2 separate regions of the Homo sapiens genome follow, and region 1 is linked to region 2. Evidence: promoter capture Hi-C in 16 types of primary human blood cells and fetal thymus (Javierre and others, 2016). All regions are on one chromosome and are shown on one strand. Each heading gives the region's core, a stretch centred on a gene start or on the middle of the fragment in contact. The rest is flanking DNA. Distances are from core to core; before and after follow the strand shown.

Region 1 (3,414 bases), core at 421-2,920, 290 kb after region 2:
AAGAAGCTTTAATGGCCTATATACTTATATTATTGATATATTCACGCACCTGTCCCAACTTGCTGTCCTTTCCAATATCACTTTGTTTTTATCACACTCCTTAATATCACTTCTTTGTTAGGTCTTGATCACATGCTTAAATCATTTTTAATGTTTGCTAAACTCTGTATGAGAGATTGAAGAATTACGAGACAGGAACATCAATGTGAAAGGGTAAAATATGTGGAGAATATATAAGGTGCCAGCATATGACAAAACCCTAAAGATGTACGATGGTCACAAGCCATGGAAGAAGATAGGACAACTGAATTGTCAACCTTGCCGCCTCCTCCGTAGCCTCCTAAATCTTATCTTCCTTTTGTCTAATTTATGAAAAATGTTTCCTATAATTGTCTCCCAAAAGCAGAGTTGTCCCCATGCTGTAATATACATTGACCACTCAGATTCATTTAAAAAATACATCTTGCTTTTATTCCCAATATAACCACATTTCAGAAGTTAGATCATAGCCAGTTAGATTACACAGAGCGTGCGCACGCGCACGCGCACACACAAACACACCTTGAAAAAACTGTAGATCACTTGATTTCTGGAAGTTTTTCTCAATACCTCAGTGCACCTGATCACAACATCTTGTAATCTGGGCAGAAGGTAAGGGAGGTGATGTTAGGCGTACAAACTTAATATTGGGGATGCATTTTCTACCTAGAAATGGTCCTACATTCTACCAGAATGGGTTAAAAACAGATGCGCGCGCGCACACACACACACACACACACACAGAATTAAATGCACTACATTTGCTGTATTGCCTGCTAAAGGCATAAATATACTGGAGTGGAGATAAAGAAGGGGATGGATGGGAAAGAGTTCAGTACTTAGTGTAAACCTGAAAGGAAATGAGGCAGTGCAAGGGGAGAGAGGATCAGGGGAAAATAAATTATGTAGGCAACAGAACCATGCATCAAAAGTCTTTTCGATTTCTAAACTGGCAAATTTTCTCCAGGGGACCATCAGTCAAATGATGTCAAATTGAGCTGATTCTCTTGTAATGCCTGTATTGTGTAGGGCCTTCCTTGTAGGAACACAAGTTCCACTCTCGGACACAGTCGCAGTGCTTGCATTATCTTACAGAATTGATTGCTGCAAATGGTTCCTGGGAGGTGTGACCTGCTTAAAGGAAAGAAGCTAGGTTTCTTTTCTTGTTACTGAGGAATGAAGACACTTGTCAGGATGTGAATTGTGTGGGTGAGAAGGAAAAGCGGCGAAAGAATCTGGTAATTCCTTCCCTTACAGGAGGAAGAGAAAAAAGATAACATCGGAACCTTGGAGAGGAGAAATACAGTGCATTTATTTCCAGCATCCCCGCAGTCACTTCACGTCTCTTCAGACTTCCCCTATTCTTTAGTCTTGACCTGCCTATGCACTTGAACTCCACATAAGCACTAGGATGGACTGGGGGAAAAGGCCAGGTCAGCACGGTGGGATACTGCTTCCCCTAAAATGAAAACTCAGCAGCGGGCCAGCAGTGGGTGTGCGCGCGTCGATGCCAGAGGATGCGTGCGTGGAATCCGGCGGACGCAGTGGGCCGGGCACCGCCCTCCAAGCCGCCCCGCCCAGCCCACCACACTCCTCCTTGTATAAAGGCCGCGCTTGGGCCCGCCCTCCTCACAGCCCCGGAGCGCGGCCTGCCGGGGAGGTGGATCTCGCGCTCCCCACACAGTCACACTCCGCGCACTCACACACTTGGAAGCGCCTCCCCACGTCCCTCCCCTGCCCTCCTCTTGCTCTGCTCTTCTCTCCCTCACCACAAATAGTCGCCGACCTACTGCCAATCCGCCTCTCCTCTCTCTCTCTCTCTGTCTCAACATGACTGACTGGGAAGCGGTGGCTCGGGCAGAGCAGCTCCGCTGGCGCAGGCAGGAGGAGCAGGAGGATTATTAAATAACGCAGCTGGACTCTGTGCAACTGGGAGTGGAGAGGAGCCCAACAGCCGAGAAGGGGAGGGAGGGCAGAGGAGGGGGACCAGGAAGGACACCCCCGTGCCCCGAAGACATAAATCCCTGAGTGCCCGGGAGGAGCCTTAACAAGCGCACGGAGCCCTCAAGGTAGTAACGCCCCTGGTGCCTCAGCGCTCAGCGGGTCGCGCGTCGCGTCGCCGCTTTGCGGGGCCGGCCGCAGGCGGACGCGGGGATGACCGCTCGGCAGGTGACCGCGCCGTGTCGGGGCCGCCTGCGAGCAGCGCGCGCCCAGGCCCGGCGTGCTCGGCGCAGAGACCTGGCCTTGCGGGCGGGGTGGGAAGGAGGCGGGCGGGCTCGCTCACCACCGGCCCGCGACTCCCAGTGCGCCGCGTGGCCATTTCCTCCACGCTGCTGCGTGGTTTGCTGCCTGCGGCCGCGGCGGCCGCTCCAGGGCGATGCGGAGCGCTGGCCAAGGCGGCGAGAGTTGGCGCAGGCTTCGGGTCGCTCCCCTTCCTCGCCACTCGCGTCCCGCAGGTAGAGGCGACCGGTCAGCGCTGGCGCCCCGGGCTGCGGGTGCTGAGGCGGGGACGGCGGCGAAGAGGGGGAAGGGGAGGAGGGGGCGGGGAGCCAGGGGCTCCCGGAGGAACCGCAGTGCGGGGCCGGGACCACCTCTTGCCTCCGCCTGCTTGTCCTCTGGCGCCAGTTTCCTGGATTGGAAGCAAGACCCTGCCCAGAGGCAGCAGTAACGGCAGCGACTTAGATTGAACCACTTGCTTTGTGGTGGAGCGTCAAGGGCCCCAGGTTGTGTGCGTGTGTGTGTGTGTGTGTGTGTGCGCGCGCGCGCGCGCTCTGGACTAACCAGTGGGTTGGTTCACCTGAGCAGAAAGTCAGCCGTAAGCTGAAACCGCATGTGGCCCCCTGGCCCCTTCGACTTTTGGCTTGTGTCCCAGGGACTCGTACACACGGTGCCAGCAAGGGGTAAGGGTGACGGAGGGATTTGTGAATGGTGCTTCTGCGTGCGTGGAGGCTGAGCCTTGCTGATGTAAAGGAGGAGGTATCCAGAGTGAGAAGAAAGGCTATTTATGGCAAAGAGTTGTGAAATTTCTTGGGGTTTCCTTTTAGTGTATCCTGAACTGCTCTCTTTCTCTCTCTCTCTCTCTCCTCTCCCTGCCTCAGAATTAGAAGCAATTATGCTTCCCCTTCCTCTCGTGGGACATGGAATATGAAATGAAGTAAAAAAAAAACTCATATTTTTACAGGTAGAAAAAAATACTTCTTAGAAGTTACAGATTCTTTGCCCTTTAATGTTTTTATGTCCTCTTCTCCACCCCTCTTACCTTTTCAGGCAGTCAGTAGGACTTACAAGTCAGAAAATACCTACTTGGTTTCAACAGCTTTCATTTCTGAAATCTTTACAGTTGAATACCTTCCTATTGAAATGTAACACACATCC
Region 2 (3,685 bases), core at 290-2,789:
CAACTCCCTCCTTGGCCTTTGAAAGTCCTTTCATGAATACATCCATGGCTAATGAATTCCTTTACACCACACTGGAAAACATAAAATACACTTTGAATGAGAACTTTCGGGGAAAAATAAACAAAAAACACTGAAAAATCATGAGAAACCCTCCAAAGTGTGAGACTCTTTTAAGTGTACACTCATTTAACCATTGGACAAAGCAGACATTTTTAGCTCTGGCATTAAAAATTTAGCATCTCCCATCCATCTTGGCTAGTAAAAGTCTAGCCACCTAACCACGGATTAGGATGAATCCTCTGAGTTGTTATTACTGCATTTCAGAAGTGGAGTTGCATGAAAAGATTAACCCCTTTTTTAAATTCCCGGGGTCTAAAGGGTAACAGTATGAGTTAGAAGCATGGAAGCTGGAGGCTTAGGGTCAGGGGTATCCTTAACATGAATCCCAGAAGAAGGCTAACAGGTTGATGGTGGAAAGGCGTAGGCAACAGAACTAACTGCTCACTCGGGGTGTGGTTCAAACTCAGGCAAACAGCAGGCCCAAGTGTGATGGTTCTAATCCATCCAACATCCACCCCCGCCCTCAGCTATCTACCCTGAGCAGGCGCCGCTCACACTCGCGGGCCGTCTCCAACCCCGCGCCAGCCACCCGAGGGGGCGTTCTCAGCCTCCACCCTAGCGGACCCCGCGCCAGCACTTGTTAACCCGTTACCACCTGTTGACTTGGCCTCCTTGCACTTCCATTTCATTATTTGCCAAACGCAGCTTGCTTACTTTACAGAGAAAAACCAAGAGAGCGGGCAGACAGATTTTATGTGAGAGAAAAGTTGGATGCTCACGCTCCATGGAGCATCCTCGCGTTTCCCGGGGAAAAGCGGATCCCGGAGAAGCAGCCTAATCTCTCAGCCCTTGTGGAGAAGGGAATATCAGAAGCAGGACGAAAGCCAGGTCAAGTCTCTTTCCTTAGGCTCCCCAAAGGGACAAGTACTCACCTCCCAGAGACCTGGCCCAGCGGGTCCTCATGGCAGCACCACCCCCTCCCGGTGCCCACGACCATTCGTCTCCCATCCGGCGTTCTCCAGGATTTCCAAAGACGCCCGTTTAGATCCACAGGTACTTACCTGAGTCCCTCTGCTTCTCCACAACTCCGACTCCTCCCCGCCTCTCTCTTTTTTTAAAAAAAAAATTTAAACAATTCCCAAATAATATTTAATAGGAAAGAAGAAGGAAAAGGAGCGCACAGGAAGGGCGGAGGCGGCACCCGGGGGGGACTGTCCCCAGAGGAGGCCGCTGTGAGCCGGCGACGCGAGGCTGGGGGAGTGGGAGGCAAACCCGCTAACCTGTCGTCGAATGGCCACTCCCAGTTCTCCGCTCACGAGGGTGGAAAGGCAGAAGGCTTGAAGGCAAGGCGTGAGGGAGCGCCCAGGACGCTCTCGGAGGGGCCGGGCCGGGGTCTGCGCTGCAGCCCGCACGCACCTCACTTCCGCGTCGCGGCGCTCGGTCGCTCGCCCCCTCTCTTGGGCCCCTTCTGGTCGTCGCCGTCCTCCTCCTCCTAGTCCTCCTCCTTCTCCTTCTCCTCGGCTCTCCGCCCCCACCGCTGATTTGTCAGCGCTTCTGCCCGCCCCTCTCCCGGCGCTCGCTGCTTTCCCTGCAGCGTGCTCCTCGTCCCTATCTCGGATGGGGATGGGGCAGGGGGCGCGGGGTGAGCCATCAACTCCAGCCGCCTGCCTGGCCGCGCAAGGCGGGAAAGTGGGGGCGCTTTTGCGCCTCACGTTAAGTTTAGGGTCACGAGCACTCTTGTGGAGATCGGGAGCGGTTGGGCTAGGGATGATGCCTCTTCCTCTTTCCCCTTCCCCTCCCTTCTTGTCCCCGCCTTTCCTCTGGGTCCTCCCGGGGACCACCCCCTACCCCTCGTCAGAGTCGCCCTGGGAGAGCCGAGGGCCTGAGGGTCGACCACCAAGGGCAGAGCCTATCCCTTGGGGAGCTGCTGGAGGAGACAGGCAGCGCCGGGAGGTGGCTCACACCGCACCGCCGAGAGCGCTTTGCCCTCGCATCGCTGAAATTTAATCACGGTCACAGGTTACAACGTTAGGGGTCGCTTTAGTTCAAATATCTTCAAGGTTTTCGTTTGCTCTTAATCTAGGAAGAGCCGGAAAGGGTCCTGAGGGTGAAAGGGAGACTACTAAGGAAGAGTCACAGGTTGAGGAGGCAGGAGAAGGCTCAGCAAATCCTCTTTCCACGCCACTATCACCATTTTCCTTTCCACCAATCAGCGCCTGCCAGACGCTGATTTTCCCATCAGTGGAACAAGGAATAAATATTCCCCAGCCGTCTAAAACAAGCGGTCCTAAGGCTTTTCGCTCTAGAAATGGGACTTACTTTGCAGACCTCCCTTTATCTGGGAGACAAATCCAGCGTGATTTAGCCTACCGGACCATCATATCCAATTTCTTCTTCAGCCCCTTCTGAAAGGGAGATGCTACACACCACTCACCTTTCTGACTTCTGATTCTCGTTGCCCTCAGAATTGACACCCCCTTTTCTCTCCCCCCACCCACCACACGCACATGCACACAGACATACACACGCGAACTTCAAGACAATTTTTGCATCGCTTAACACATTTTCACCTCTTTCAGAGCTGGAAGACAGCTGTTCCTGGATCACACCAGAATGGAGAAGCAAGCTCCTCCCACTAGCAGAAAGCCTTTGCTTTCTGTGCCTGGATTCGGAAGATTAGTTAAGCACTGGAAGAGGAGGGGGGAAACAACAACTCGTTTTTGCTGTATGTTTTTTTTTTAATTGTTTTTATATTTATAGAAAGTTATGCTTTGTCTGATTCTTGCGCTAATTTGGGTTCTGAAATTTGAGTAAAATCAAATTTAAACATACAAAACAACTTTAAAACCACAAGGAACAGGAAGCAAATGATTATACATAAAAGACATATAGAAGATAATGCATATGTGTTCAGTGGAAAATAGAAAAGCATGAAAGTAAGATCACAAATATTTATTATTTAAACTCTTCCTTGAACTATTGGTCTGCCCTTTGGAAAAGCAGACTTTCCTTAATGCAGTAGCTCATATTAATATTTTTTGTTTGCTTAGGACCAGAGCAAGAAGGTTGGACTTGGGAGCTAGTTTGCTGTCTGGCTTTGAGACCTTGAACAAGTTTTGTTCTCCTTCTGTTTCCAGTTTTCTTTTTTGTAAATTAGGAGATTAACTCATGTGATCACTCTATTTTCAACTTTTTGTTATGGGAAATATTCAAACATATGCAAAAGTAGACAGAATAAAGGACTCTCATGTGAAGATCATCCAACTTTTACATTTTTTCAATGCATGGCTGATCATGTCTCATCCATAAGTCCACTCACTTTATCACTACCAATCCTCCCTCTTTTTTTTTTTTTTTTACCAAATTCAAGCTTTATATATATCTTTTCAGCTGTAAACATTCAGTATGCATCCACAAAATTTAAGGACTGTTTAAAAATAACCACAATATCATTAGATGATTCTTTAAAATTGCAGTGTAATTTACACCTAGGGAAATGCTCAGATGTTGTGTCCCTTTAAATCAGTTTTGAAAAAGCCATGCATTAGTGTAACCCACACTATTTTGAAGACACAGGACATTTTCATCATTCCAGACAGTTACCTTGTACCTTCATGTGCATATT

What was found. Contacts are between HindIII fragments. The CHiCAGO score rates a contact against its expected background, and 5 or more counts as called.
Region 1: a contact is called between the fragment with the promoter of CCSER1 here and the fragment with the promoter of SNCA in region 2, in 14 of 17 cell types (total B cells, neutrophils, naive B cells and 11 more). The highest score is 15.6, in total B cells.

Annotation. Positions count from the first base shown.
Region 1 is chr4:90,125,724-90,129,137 of GRCh38, forward strand. It overlaps CCSER1 (coiled-coil serine rich protein 1), which reads left to right and starts at 1,671. Exons shown (of 11, transcript NM_001145065.2): 1 at 1,671-2,108. RefSeq lists silencers at 2,229-2,428, 2,539-2,788. The HindIII fragment of the contact is 6,776 bases long and covers 5-3,414 here.
Region 2 is chr4:89,835,622-89,839,306 of GRCh38, forward strand. SNCA (synuclein alpha) reads right to left here and starts at 1,540. Exons shown (of 6, transcript NM_000345.4): 1 at 1,341-1,540; 2 at 1-71. The coding sequence starts at 46. It overlaps SNCA-AS1 (SNCA antisense RNA 1), which reads left to right and starts at 780. Exons shown (of 4, transcript NR_045481.1): 1 at 780-1,113; 2 at 2,640-2,785. The HindIII fragment of the contact is 7,659 bases long and covers 1-3,428 here.